Regions from separate parts of the Homo sapiens genome. Here region 1 is linked to region 2. The links are contacts of gene promoters, found by promoter capture Hi-C in blood cells and fetal thymus (Javierre and others, 2016). All regions are on one chromosome and are shown on one strand. Each heading gives the region's core, a stretch centred on a gene start or on the middle of the fragment in contact. The rest is flanking DNA. Distances are from core to core; before and after follow the strand shown. Region 1 holds the start of CHRNG (cholinergic receptor nicotinic gamma subunit). Region 2 holds the start of COPS7B (COP9 signalosome subunit 7B).

Region 1 (6,981 bases), core at 2,696-5,195, 750 kb after region 2:
GGCTTCTGAGGCCTCACCTGGGACTGAGGTTGAGGACACCTCCCTCCCTCCAGACCCCAGAGTATCCTTTCCTAGCTCTTTCTGCCTTGACCTCTCTGCCTAGGTCCCTTTGGGAAGTTGAGGACTGGAGTGGAAAGGTCAGGATCGACATCCACAAAGACTTGGGGTCAGCCTGAGGTTGCACACACAATCCTAGAGGACCAGAACGCAGCACCTCTCCCCAAAGGGTCCCTGCCCCCCAGCACCTACTCCTCTCCAAATTAGGGTTGTCATGCATTATTTGGGGCATACATATTCTAAAAAATCATTCGTTGTTTCTCTGAAATTTGTCCCCTATTTTTATTTGCTAAATCTAGCAACCCTATCCCAAAGGCAGCCTCCACTCAATCTTATCCTGAGGGCCAAAGGCCAAGGCTGCAGGAATTGGGAGACAAGGGTCTGTTTGTATGGTGGTCCACCTCCAAGATGGCCCCAGTGATGCCCAGTATTCACACCCTTGTGCAGTCCCCTCACTCTGTACCAGGGTGGGTCTGGGTAACCAATAGAATGAGGCAGAAGTGATGGTACCTCACTTCCCAGATTTGGTTAGGAAAGACACTATGGCCTCTTTCTTGCTCATTAGCCCTCATTCTCACATCAGTTGGATCTCTCACTTTGGGGAAGCCAGCTGGCATGTTAAGGAGCCCTATGGAGAGGCCCACATGGCAAGGAACTAAGGCCTCCTGCCAACAGCCACGTGAGTGAATGTGGAAGTGGATCCTCTGCCCCAGTAGGGCCTTCGGATGAGATCACAGCCCAGTAGACATCTTATGTGCAGCCCCATGAAAGTCCCTAAGCCAGAACCACCAGCTAAGTGACTCCTGGATTCCTGACCCCCAGAAACTGTGTGAGATAATAAATGTGTGTTGTTTTAAGTGACAACGTTTTGGTGTCATTTGTTACACCAGCAATGTGACCTTGAGTGAGCTGCTCCTCATCTCACTCCTCACCTTCCATCTTCTAATCTGCAAAATGTGTGTCTAGTAAGTCCTAGTCATGGGGTGTTGTGAAAATTGAATTTCTAGTAGGAGCATTTTCATGTGACCTGCACATTTAATGGGTGGTGATTTAACCCATTTCCCTCAGGGGGGAATTGGTGACCTCATTAACTCAGATATACAGAAGGTGAGATTTTTAATGTTTAGATGTAACCAAGGAAAAAGAAAAACCATTTAAAACCAAAACTGACCCTAGTAACTTCTGCCTTCCAGCATGAACTATTCACAAAATTCAAGGTACAAATCTTTAATTGTCCTGTCTAAATAGGAAAGCCAGTTTGTTCTCACACCTGTCAGGTGAGCAGGAAATCTGAGACTTCCCCAGGAATAGCCCATCAACTCAGGGAGGGTCCGTCTTGTGCACAGAGAGTCTAGGGCCCTCAGCCACAGTCTTTGCTTCTCTCTGCCTCATGGTGGCGCTGCTGGCAGCAGGTCTTGGTTCAACCACCAGGTGAGTCCTCAGTTCTATTAGGCCCTGCTCAAGTGGCTGTGGACTTCCAGAGAAGACAACCCCAAAATGTCACACAAAACCGGGGGGGTGCCTCCTGCACAGGCTCCCAGGGTCACCACAGTTTCCACCAGAGGCACCCACTCCCCCAGCACGGTGGTGCTGTCAGGACTGGTCCACTCTGACTGACATAGAACTCCATCTTCTGTCCCCAGGAAGCCATGCTCACAGGCACAGCTTTCCGGGAAGCCAGAGAGTGTTCCTTACTCTCTCCAGACCAACAGGGCTACCCTCTCTCTTTCAATGGACAGTGAATCAGTAATACACTGGCCTGCAAGGAACAGAAAGCTGAAGGAATTGTAGCTTAAACACATAAGGTTTCCTTTTTCTCACATAGTAATAATAGGGAGGCGGAGGTGATCATGTTGGCTCGGCTGTCTAACAAAGCTATCAGGGACCCAGGCATTTTGCCATCTGCCCAGCCCTGCCTCCATGGCAAGTTGGCTTCTGTCCTCAGACCTGTTGGCCCCAGTTTGTGAGCTGACAGCCACAGCTGCACACTTAGCACCTATGTTCAGGCAGAAAAGGGCCAGCCATTTCTGACCCCTTTCATCAAGAAGCAAAACTTTTCCATAGGCCGGGCACAGTGGCTCACGCCTGTAATCACAGCACTTTGGGAGGCTGAGGCGGCTGGATCACCTAAGGTCAAGAGTTCAAGACCAGCCTGACGAACATGGTGAAACCCCCTCTCTACTAAAAATACAAAAATTAGATGGGCTTGGTGGCGCCCGCCTGTAATCCCAGCTACTCAGGCGGCTGAGGCAAGAGAATCGCTTGAACCCAGGAGGCAGAGGTTGCAGTGAGCCGAGATCAAGTCATTGTACTCCAGCCTTGGCGACAAGAGTGAAACTCCAACTCAAAGAAAAAAAAAAAAACAACTTTTCCATAAAGCTCCAGTAGACATCCCGCAGGTCAAAACATCACATGGCTAGCCTATCTGAAGGGAGACTAGGAAATGAGTATCTTGCTCTACCAGCCATTATAACAGAGGGTGGCAAAGGAGAAGTAGTGTTAGACAATTCTACAGATGATTTTCTCTGAATGGGTCCTGTCCCTGCACACGTAACCCCTGCAAGAAACTTCCATTCCTCATTGATGATTTACCCTTCGGAGAACACCAAGAAGGCTTCTAGGCCATCTCTCCCAGAGCAGAGAAAGGGAGAAAACAGGAGGGTGGAGGGTAGGGGATGCAGGGACAGGTGGTCCACTGTTTGGCAGTGCTTCCTGATCATGGAGGCCATTGAATTTGGTAAAATGTGGGCATGGAGGAGAGTAAAGAGGTGGAGAGAAACTGGTCTGCAAAAGAGGATAAGAAAACTGCATCTAGGGGGACCAGAGGGCAAAATGGAAAGGCAAGGCTCTCAGAAGTGAGAAGGAAACGAGGGCTTTGTAAATTCCAGGAAAAGTGGGCCACACAGAGAGAAGCTCAGTGGGGGGGATGCCCAGGGAGGGGGAAGCTCAGGAAGGGGGAAGCTCAGGGAGGAGGAAGCTCAGAGAGGAGGAAGCTCAGGGAAAGGGAAGCCCAGTGAGGGGGAAGCTTAGGGAGGGAGAAGCTCAGGGAGGGGGAAGCTCTGGGAGGAGGAAGCTCAGGGAAAGGGAAGCCCAGTGAGGGGGAAGGTCAGCGAGGGGGAAGTTCAGGGAGAGGGATGCTGAGTGAGGGGGATGCCGAGTGAGGGGGAGGCCGAGTGAGGGGGATGCCCAGTGAGGGGGATGCCCAGTGGCAGGCCAAGATGGGTGGATCACTTGAGTTCAGGAGTTCCAAGACTGGCCTGGCCAACATGGTGAAACCCCGTCTCTACTAAAAATACAAAAAAGAAAAAAGAAGAAGAAGAAGAAAAATTAGCCAGGCGTGTTGGCGCATGCCAGTAGTCCCAGCTACTCAGAAGGCTGAAGTAGAAGAATCAAGGTGGAGGTTGTAGTGAGCCAAGATCGCACCACTGCACTCCAGCAAAAAACAAACAAACAAACAAACACAAAAACCCTCACATGCCTACCCAACAGCCTTCACACCCACCCAAATCCTGACTCCCTGGAGGGAGTAGGAGGCAGTCCACCTCAGCCCTCTCTGGAGCCGCTGTCAGGTTCCTCGGCGACCTGCCTTCCCTACCACACCCAGCTGGCCCTGGCTGTCCTTGCCCCCCATGTGGAACATGGAGGTGAGGCTGGGACAACTGAGCCCGAGTTGGGGCTGGAAGGTGGATGTCTCTTTTGGGGCAGACGGGGCCCCTGTCTCCCCTCTCCAGCCCAGGTAACCTGAGCCCAGCATTGTGTCCATCCTGGAACAGCTGACAACGCTGTGGTCAGACAGCTGGTGGGGCTGGGCCAGGCTGGCCGGGCTGGCTGGGCTGGCTGGGGTGGGAGTGTAGGCTGTTATATGACACCCAGAGCCCATCTCTCTCTGCCCCAGACCTTGGAGCTGTTGTCCCACCCCTGTCACTGCAGAGAGCTGAGGCACCATGCATGGGGGCCAGGGGCCGCTGCTCCTCCTGCTGCTGCTGGCTGTCTGCCTGGGTGGGACACAAAGGAATCTCAGCCTGGGGAGTCCCAGAGCTGGGGTCCACAGCCTCAGGGGATGGAGGGTCTGAGGGGTATTGGGGCCTGCCCTGGACCCAGTTCCCTGAGTCCCCACTTCACACCCCCAGGGCCTCCCCGCTCTTTCCACCTCCAAGCTCCTGCTAGGCTCACGCCTGTCTATTGCAGGGGCCCAGGGCCGGAACCAGGAGGAGCGCCTGCTCGCAGACCTGATGCAAAACTACGACCCCAACCTGCGGCCCGCGGAACGAGACTCGGATGTGGTCAATGTCAGCCTGAAGCTAACCCTCACCAACCTCATCTCCCTGGTAAGCCGCAGGACGGAGGAGGGGTCAGCGCACCACGCCCTGGGACCTGCTGGGGATAGCATGGGGTGGCTCCAGCCACCAAGAGGTTGGAGGGCCCTAAATCGGACAGGCTGGGGTCTGGAAAACCCCCATGGTTGTGGGGGGAGTACTATCAAGAGGCTGGGGGATGCTTGGCCCCATTGGTGGCCTGTGGGGACTGGCACTGAAGTCGGGGGCTGAGCCCTCCATACTACACCCTTGCACCCCCAGAACGAGCGAGAGGAAGCCCTCACCACCAATGTCTGGATAGAGATGGTAAGAGGCCACCCTGCCACCCTCCTTCCATCAGGGGTCCCACCCCACCACCCCAAGGCCTCCTGAGAGTTGCCTGCCCCGTTCCTGCCTCTTCTGTCCTCTTGGGCTGGATGCCCACTCCTAGGGCTGTGGTGCAGCAGAGGGCAGAGGCCTAGCAACTGCCCCTCCCCCTGCAGCAGTGGTGCGACTATCGCCTGCGCTGGGATCCGCGAGACTACGAAGGCCTGTGGGTGCTGAGGGTGCCGTCCACCATGGTGTGGCGGCCGGATATCGTGCTGGAGAACAAGTGAGGAGGGGGTGCAGGCAGGGGTGTGGGGGACAAAGGACACAGGGTCTGGGCCCAGCAGAACAAGGCACTCTGGGAAAAGAGAAAGATGAGCAGAGGGTGCAAATCGGGCACCTGTGGGGCTAGGGAAGAACTGGATGGAGCAGGTGCCGAGGGCAGGGCCCTGGGTATGCCCTCTGACCCCAGGGCCAGCAGAGCAGACCCTACGCCAGGCTCCATCTCCTCTGGGCTGGGCCACCTGGGTGGGCTGCTCCCTTCCCTGTAACATGGGGCCGCTGACGGGTCCTATAGAAGCTGGCGAGAGTCAACAAGACAGGCATGAAAAGTGCATCACTCGGGGGCTGGCACATGGTGTGGGCTTAACACATTAGTCGCTATTATGACTATTATTATTATTATTATTATTATGATTAAAACAAGAGAGAGTAAGATAAGCAGAAATTAGGAGGTGGTGCCTGAGGAAGTCTGTCTGGGGCGGGGGGTGGCAGGAGGATTGCTGGGGGGACCTAGTGGTCCGGGTGGGAACCAGTCAGGGGGTGACAGGCTGGTAGGGACTGGTGTCCCCAGGCCCCTATCCACATGGGGCACAGGGGCTGGTCTGGGGCTGGGGTGTCGGGGGCTGAGCCCACAGCCTCGTGGCCTGGCCTGTTCTGTGCATACAGCGTGGACGGTGTCTTCGAGGTGGCCCTCTACTGCAATGTGCTCGTGTCCCCTGACGGCTGTATCTACTGGCTGCCGCCTGCCATCTTCCGTTCCGCCTGCTCTATCTCAGTCACCTACTTCCCCTTCGACTGGCAGAACTGCTCCCTTATCTTCCAGTGAGGCCATTTATTGGGGAGGATTAAGAGAGCTGCTCTCAGAGGGGCCTGGGCAGTGGTGGGGTAAGGCCTGGGCAAGGCTTCTGGCCTTGGCTCTGGCAGCACCTAGAGGCCTGGCTCCATCTCCCCTGGGCCTCTGTGCCCATCTCAGGCTAAGACACCTGAAGGTGCCCAAGCTCTCCCTGCTAAGCCCGAGTCCCCTCACTCATCCTTTACTGCCTCAGTTTCCTCACCTGTGCTCCAAGGGGAGACATTCACGCCTGGGGTGCGTGGGTGAGAAGGCACACATGCACACAAGATGCGTGTCTGCGCACACACGAAACCACTGCACACTCCAGGCCCACAGGGAGGCAGGGCTGTCCTGTGAGAGAGGGGCCCTGGCAGGGAATCCAGCGGAAGCATGTATGCAACCAAGCCACCCCTGGGGGTCTCTGGGTCTGTTTCCTCAAACCTAAGTGTGGGGAGGAGGGCCCGGGGGAGGGTTCTCCTGTACCTTAGAGGAGCAGTCTTTCCATGAGCAAACCTGGCAGGGAGACTCCCCTCTGTAGACACGGGGGTCCTCCTGAGGTAGGCATGTGTTTTCTACATTGCCATCATCAGCCCCTCCTGCCAGACAGCAGTGGGAGAGACAAATGCAGAGTGACCCTGGGCCCATCAGCCAGGTGAGGGCCCTGCAGCCTCCTGGGCCTTCAACTCCATCTTCCTGACCCCAAAGAGCCCTAGGTCCTCCTGCTCTCCATATCTCGCCAGTGGGGTTTTATAGAGAACTCAGAAGCGTGGGGCTGCATTTTGTTGAAGAAAAGCTGCCCACACTTGTCCCCAGAAGGTCATCCCCATGCAGTCGTGGCAGGTCCACCCGCTCACATTTAGCCTCTTTCCTCGGTGACTCCCAGGTCCCAGACTTACAGCACCAATGAGATTGATCTGCAGCTGAGTCAGGAAGATGGCCAGACCATCGAGTGGATTTTCATTGACCCTGAGGCCTTCACAGGTAACCCCCACCCAAGGGCTCCCCAGGCAGCCTCATCCAGGGCTCCTGCTGGACCCAGCTGTGGTCAAGGCTGGACCAAGGTCAAATCCCTCCCATGTAACTCAAAATGAAAACTACAGCAAACCATAAAATATGCTTTTTAAAACGTCCAACAAAGCTCTGACTTTCCTCATGATAATGTCTCCAATTTTAGAAGAGGCTCGAGCA
Region 2 (6,887 bases), core at 1,331-3,830:
TAGCTATAGTAAGACTATAGGTGTACTCCACTGCATCTGACAAGCAGAAATTCTTAATTTTAACACAGTGCAATAGTTCCGTGCTTTTTATTATGGTTAGTGTTTTTTGCATTGGATTTCAGAAATCTTTGCTTTTAGAGTTGGCAGGTTTTTTACAGGCTGATAGAAGAGCATTCCAAAAAAGAGCAAGCTTGAGCATAGGTGTGGTGTCTGAGAGGGAGGGTGTAAGTTGTGCCGGGCATGGGAGTTTGGACTGAGAAGGGGGAGGGGGTGGGGTGCGACAAAGCTGGAGTTAGGAGGGAGGCACACTTTGAAGGGCTTTCAGTGCAGCCACTGCCTGGGCGTGGTGGCTCACGCCTGTAATCTCAGCACTCTGGGAGCCAAGGTGGGAGGATCACTTGAGATCAGGGAAGACCAGCTTGAGCAACATAGTGAGACCCCATCTTTAAAAAAAAAAAAAGGAATAAATTTGCCGGGTGTGGTGGCACGCACCTCTAGTCCTAGCTACTTGGGAGGTGGAGGTGGTAGGATCCCTTGAGCCCAGAAGTTCAAGGCTGAGGTGAGCTATGATAGTGCCACTGCACTCCAGCCGCGGTGACAGAGTAAGACTCTGTCTCTTAAGGGAAAAAAAAACCAAAATACTAAATCCAAATTGCAGCCATGGAGTCTGGACATTGTTCTAGAGGAAGTAGAGGCATTGCTGGAATTTCTATGAAGTCACACTAAACTCACTTGTCTTCCTCTCACTCTCATATTTGTCCCTCCTCTTCCATAGCCCTGTTCACTTAACACTAGCTCTAGACAGCTCTGGCCTCCCAGCGCAGAATCCTGGGTGTTATGCTCCCTCCCTCTCCTTATATTCAACTGGTCACCAAGTCTTATAGATTCTATAGTCTAAATGTCTCCAACAGTGTCCCTTCTTTTTCATCCCCAATTGCCACTACCTTTGTTTTTGTTTGTATTTTTGAGATGCAGTCTCAGTCTGTTGCCCAGGCTGGAATGCAGTGGCGCAATTTCGGCTCACTGCAACCTCCACCTCCTGGGTTCAAGCGATTCTCATGCCTCAGCCTCCAGAGTAGCTGAGATTAGTAGTGCATCACCATGCCCAGCTAATTTTTGTATTTTTAGTAGAGACAGAGTTTTGCCATGTGGCCCAGGCCGGTCTCGAACTCCTGACCTCAGGTGATCTGCCCACCTTGGCCTCCCAAAGTGCTGGGATTACAGGCGTGAGCCACCGCGCCCGGCAACACAATCTCTTATCTAGAATAAATCGGTCACCTCACCGGAGGTTTTCCCTGCCTCCAATTCTCTCCACATCCAATCCACTCCTATAGCACCTAGCATGATCACTCTAACAAGGCAATTATTCATACCTCTCCTTAGCTTAAAAAGCCTAAGTAATTCCCCAGTACCTGGCATGTGGATTCCAAGACCTTTGATGACCTGACTCCAGCTCTGTACCCCTCATTTCTCACTCTTGAAAACCCTGGGGTCAAACCACTCTGGGTTTCTTTTTGACATCAGTATATGCTGCACAGTGCGAGCCTCTGTGACAATGGGCACTACCCCCCTTTTTTCCCCTTTTTGTCTGTTTTTTTCTTCCCCAACCTCTTCTGTGCTTCCAAAGTGTTGTCATATCTTCCCCATAGCATTTAACACATTGGAGCTTTTGAGGGTAAGAGCTTTGTTTTATCTTCATATAACTTTTCAGGACATAATAGGTGCTAAAGAAATGTTTTTGAATAAATGAATGAGTTGGTTGATGCTAGGCTCCTTTGCATTTGTCCTGTCTCATTTCTGCATTCTAACGCACGATAGGCAAATAGGGCTGTTTTTCTCTCTCATTTTCAAGACCTGAAAGACTGTGGTGTATACAGGAATCAGTTTAAGTGTTCAATTATGTGGCATTTCTTAGCCATCTTCCCAGGGGAGTTGGTAAGCACCAGATGCAACTCTATCAATGACATTTTGGTCATAGAACCATTGTTGGCTTAACCCATCTCTTGCTTATTTTAAAACATTTTCTGAATAGAGGTCAAGAACATCGTCTTCGGCCTCAGATAGCCTGGGTTTGACAAAGATAGCAAGCTTTGTCACTTTCTGACTTTTGGACTTAGTTAACTCACCTGAAAAATGGGAACAATAATACAAGCCACAGTTATGAGAATTCAACGAGATAATGCATGTACAGCACCTGGCACATGGTAAAACGCTCAATAAGTGGTAGTTAGTAGGCTTAATGTATCTCGGTGCCCAGGGGTAGCGCAGTAGCCATGGGGAGCTCCTGAGAGAGAAAGCACAGCCTAAGGGGAGGATTTGGGGCCCGGGATGGCGATGGCGACGGTTGGGCTGCAGTACCGTCTAGGCCGCATTCCTCTCCTTGGGCCCCTAGCCACCCCCTCCCCGCCTGGTTCCCGGGCTGCAGACTCTTCCCCGCCCCCTCGCTCCCACTTCCCCACCGGAGGTCGAAGGCTGTAAACGCGGCGGGTGGAACCTTGTGTGGGCGGAACGCGAGTGCAGCGGTGGGAGGCTTCCGGGGGAGCTGCACGGGCGACGGGTCGGCGGAGACAGAAAAGCGCCGGACGCCGGGGTGATCATGGACGCTTGACAACCTGCGGGCAGGCGCCGGGAGGCCGAGCCAGCGACTAAGAGGACCGAGAGGTGGCGTGGACAGGTAGGAGCTAGCGAGAGGGTGGGCCGAGCGGGGCCGGCGCTCCAGGCTCGGCCAGACGATCCGGCTTAGAGCCCGCCGCCAAGGAAGCCCGCGGCCGTGCCCGCCCCGCCCCCGCCTTGGGGAGCGCGTCCCGCGGCTCCTCACTCCACGCCTGCGGCCCTGCTTGGAGCATACCGCCCACCGTGAGGTCTGCTGCAGCTTGCGACCCTCAGCTTCAGTGCTGTGGCTGCTTTCGCTCTCCCATCCCCAAAGGCTGCTCGTTTGCCCCTCTCCAGTCCATCCAAATAGCGCCCTCCCCTGACGGGAATTTATCTCCGCTCTGTGCCTAGCCTCTGGCCCTCCCACTCCAGAAGAAAGCGACTGTCTCCGTCTCTTTACATTCTCTGCGCCCACAGGCTTTGCTCCTTAAGCCGAGATTTTTTGAAGGGACAGAAGTTTCTCTCCATTTCCCTACCCCCTCTCCACCCCCACCTCCTAACATTGGGACTCTTTGCAGAGATCCCCATCTGTCTCTTCACACGGGTCCTCTTGGAAGGGCCTTTTCGCTCCTTCCCTCTTTACCGTCACCGACCCTCCTTTCTTCCCTACTCCTTTCCTTCTTCCTCGTATCCTCTCCCCTTCTCTTTTCCCTTTCCCTTCCGTCCTCAAACTCGTTGTTCCCCAGCACTTCATTGTTTTTCCTGTGTCTGGCCGGACCTTCTTAGGTAACCCTAAGTGAGGCGACATACTTGTTTCTCTAATACTGTGAAAGGGCAACTAATCTGTGTGCCTGCCAACACAAAACTTAGTTCCTCTTGCACCAAACTATTCTTCAAATTGTTCTTTGCTGCACTCTACTATACCGTTTTTCGTTCATTTTGTCACGCTGCTCTAATATGTATCATTCTTGGAGGAGAAATCTTACCTGGAACTCCTGTACACTCAGCGTGTAATTAGATTACACAATTGAGGGACCCTCCTGTACTTAATGTCTTCGGAGCGCTGATACAATATTTTCACTGTTTTCCCAAATCTTTTTATCGTTTTCTTGAGGTTTTTTTTTTTTTACACATTCTGAAGTCACGTTTGGTTAAAATGTCGTATCAGGAGGAGGCCGAATACAGGGATTTTTCCCCATGGTCTTACACAGCATGTATGTTCTTAGTTTGAATATATCGCTACTTTTCTTTCAAAATGATGTCTCCCTTTATCTGTGCTTACTTGACTTGATTAAATGAGACATCTTTCTTGTCTGGTTTTTTGTTTTCCTTATCTGTCTGGCTGTAGATTGGATTCTGATGACACAGTGGGAGCTGTAACTGATTGCTTTTGCTTACATCCGGTGCCTCTGTGTATAGGCAGTATCCTCCATTTCTTAACCAGAATGTATAAACGAGGTGGATATAAAACAGCTGCTGAGAAACTCATGTGTTTTTCTTTAGGTCCTGGTCAGGTTTAAGGACTTAGAAGGTGTTGCCTCTGGAGGAGGGACAGGTGGAAGTGAAATGACTTTTACAAAGTGTGTTTCAAACACCAGAATTTAGGACAAGATCCTTTTAACTCCAGGTTGAACTCCACCCATCTCATAAGGTGGTCATTGCATCTGGACTCAGGAACTGTTTTTTTTTTTTTTTTTTTTGAGACAGTCTCGCTCTGTTGCCCAGGCTGGAGTGCAGTGGCACAATCTTGGCTCACTGCAACCTCCACCTCCTGGGTTCAAGCAATTCTTGTGCCACAGCCTCCCAAGTAACTGGGACTACAGGTATCTGCCACCAGCCTAGCTAATTTTTGTATTTTTAGTAGAGATGGGGTTTTGCCATGTTGCCCATACTGGTCTCGAACTCCTCACCTCAGGTGATCCACCCGCCTCAGCCTCCCAAAGTGCTGGGATTACAGGCATGAGCCACTGCACTTGTCCTGTTTTTTCTTTATCAACACTATAAAAGTAAAGTATTCTGGTGTTTGATTCAGCACTGAATAGGCACAGACTTTGCAAAGGAGAAGGAAGAATGACTGACACAATTTTCTTTTGGACAGATTTCAAGGCCAGAGAATGGCAGGGGAACAGAAACCCTCAAGTAATCTCCTGGAGCAGTTTATTTTACTAGCCAAAGGTACCAGTGGCTCAGCCCTCACTGCTCTCATAAGCCAGGTCTTAGAGGCTCCCGGAGTGTATGTCTTTGGAGAACTTCTGGAGCTGGCCAACGTGCAGGAGGTAAGAACGGTTTGCAAACAATTTCTCTTTATTCTAAGACTCTGTAATTCTCCAGGTTTCCAAAGAATTTCAGTGCTGAAGTATTGTGAACCTGTGAGGTACCCTATTGTGAGACAGATGGGAATTGGTGGGGCAGAGGGAGAGATTGAGAGAATATCCTTGGCTCCTTTTATCCAGTATTTTTATCTTACCTTGGGTAAAATTAGATTGTTGCTAATAATAACCTAAAAGATAGTAAAAAAGTCAAATTGATCCTGATAAATTAGAAAAGTAGTGCTGTAAGCATGGGCTGTTTAATAGGAGTAGATTCATGCATTCTTAAGGACCAGAAACCTCCAGTGCAATATCGATAAGGAAGATTGGTCAGGGACACACAGCAGAAACATACTGCTATTGAACATAAGATGGACATGAATAGGAGTGTATTGTTCTTGAGGAAAAGGGCAGTGTTGTGCTAAATGTGTTAGATGTGTTAGATATGACATGAAAAGCTAGGACATAGTTCATTTTACTTGTTTGCTTGCTTGTTATTAAAACCTTGGATATCCAGTTTTGGTCATTGTGCCTCAAAAATGAGAAGATCCATTGAACAGAAGGAACAAAGAGATGTAAAGCAATCTATACTTCTCAACCTCTACTTTCCAATTTGAACATTTTTATTTATTTATATTTATTCACTTATTGAGAAAAGTCTGTAAGCATCTTTATTGTTTTGTGGGGTGGAGGCTGGTGCTCAGGAGCTTTTGGCGGATTGGTGGGGCAGGTCCCCTTCCTCTTCATCCTCACAGGCTTCTGGCTATGCAGACTGGTGCTGGCTCTGTGGAAGCTGCCATGCATAGATCTGGGTGATGGTACTTCTTGTGGAGCATGTGCTGGATGCTGTTGAGAGTGGCCCCGGAGTTCTTGGTGGTGGCGATTTGCATATAGGAGGTGGTTTGCTTTTGTTGGGCAGTTTATCACCTTCATGACCACCACAACACCTTTGCTGTTGGCTCCACACCCACAGTCAGTTTTAACAGGAGTTTCAGTGAATCAGTTAGTTGTAACCAAAGGAGTTGCCGGCCTTCAGTTTATTGGATTCGGTGCTGTGTGTCTGCCTATTCCTCTTGATGGGGAAACTGGAGCAGTTCCCTACAGTCCAGCCATTTCAGGTGCCCAATTATGTCTCCTCTACCTGTGATGTTCAGAGATGAGAAGAGCCACTTTTACTTTTTCACTGTAAATTTTTATTTAATGTCAGCCTTGCTTGCCGAACTATAAACTCTGTGAGGAGGTCTGTAGTGCTCACCATTGTTTCTTTAGAGCTGAATACGTAGCCTGACACACAGTAGGCTTTCAATAAAAATTTAATTTACCAGAAGTGGAAAATGAGTTTTATGAAGAAAATTTCAGAAAACTGAGTTCATTTTTCAACACAAGAGATGACCAAGGGGTAATATGTTCCTTCAGGTTCATGAACAGCCTGCATGAATATGCCAAGTAGTTGTTTTGTAACTGTGGAAGATTGGCTAAGAGGAGATGGATGGAAAGTAAAGTCAGAAAGACCTTATTGATTTAGGCCAGTGGGAGAAGTGTTGGAGTATCTGCTCTGGAGAAAATGCTCTTTTCCGGCTAGTTTTGTTAATTATGTTTCTGAAAAGGGGGGCTAGATTGGATGGTCTTTACCAGGTTTCTTCCCCTTCTGATTCAGGGACTTCAGGAGGTTTGTGGTAACCTGAGAAAGTAGCCTGAGGTATTATGGTGCTGGAGTTCTCCATAGGGTGCTTAGCAGACCACCTTTATCTCCCCATACATTGCGTTTTTCCATATGTGAGCTGAGAATAAGCTGGTTGCCTTTCAGTGATCTGAAATTATAGATGCATTTCTTGGAAGCTTTATTTTTTTTAATGGCTAAAATTGAGTAGTATCGCTATTGCTGTCTGTAGACTACCACTTGCTATTCCTGTTTAGAGTTTACTGGGCTTGGTAAGTTGGAAGGGTAACAGGAGCACGTTTGTGATTTTTTTTTTTTTTTTTTGA

What was found. Contacts are between HindIII fragments. The CHiCAGO score rates a contact against its expected background, and 5 or more counts as called.
Region 1: the fragment with the promoter of CHRNG here is called in contact with the fragment with the promoter of COPS7B in region 2 in 4 of 17 cell types (M1 macrophages, erythroblasts, M2 macrophages and 1 more); the score reaches 8.2 in M1 macrophages.

What each region holds. Positions count from the first base shown.
Region 1 is chr2:232,535,747-232,542,727 of GRCh38, forward strand. It overlaps CHRNG (cholinergic receptor nicotinic gamma subunit), which reads left to right and starts at 3,946. Exons shown (of 12, transcript NM_005199.5): 1 at 3,946-4,056; 2 at 4,246-4,385; 3 at 4,635-4,679; 4 at 4,856-4,965; 5 at 5,628-5,783; 6 at 6,677-6,774. The coding sequence starts at 4,002. CHRND (cholinergic receptor nicotinic delta subunit) reads left to right here. Exons shown (of 12, transcript NM_000751.3): 12 at 1-918. RefSeq lists an enhancer at 5,768-5,827. The HindIII fragment of the contact is 5,406 bases long and covers 3,081-6,981 here.
Region 2 is chr2:231,783,865-231,790,751 of GRCh38, forward strand. It overlaps COPS7B (COP9 signalosome subunit 7B), which reads left to right and starts at 2,581. Exons shown (of 7, transcript NM_022730.4): 1 at 2,581-2,674; 2 at 4,691-4,868. The coding sequence starts at 4,707. It also overlaps the pseudogene RPL28P2. RefSeq lists silencers at 2,219-2,298, 2,309-2,488, 2,579-2,838. The HindIII fragment of the contact is 4,652 bases long and covers 2,087-6,738 here.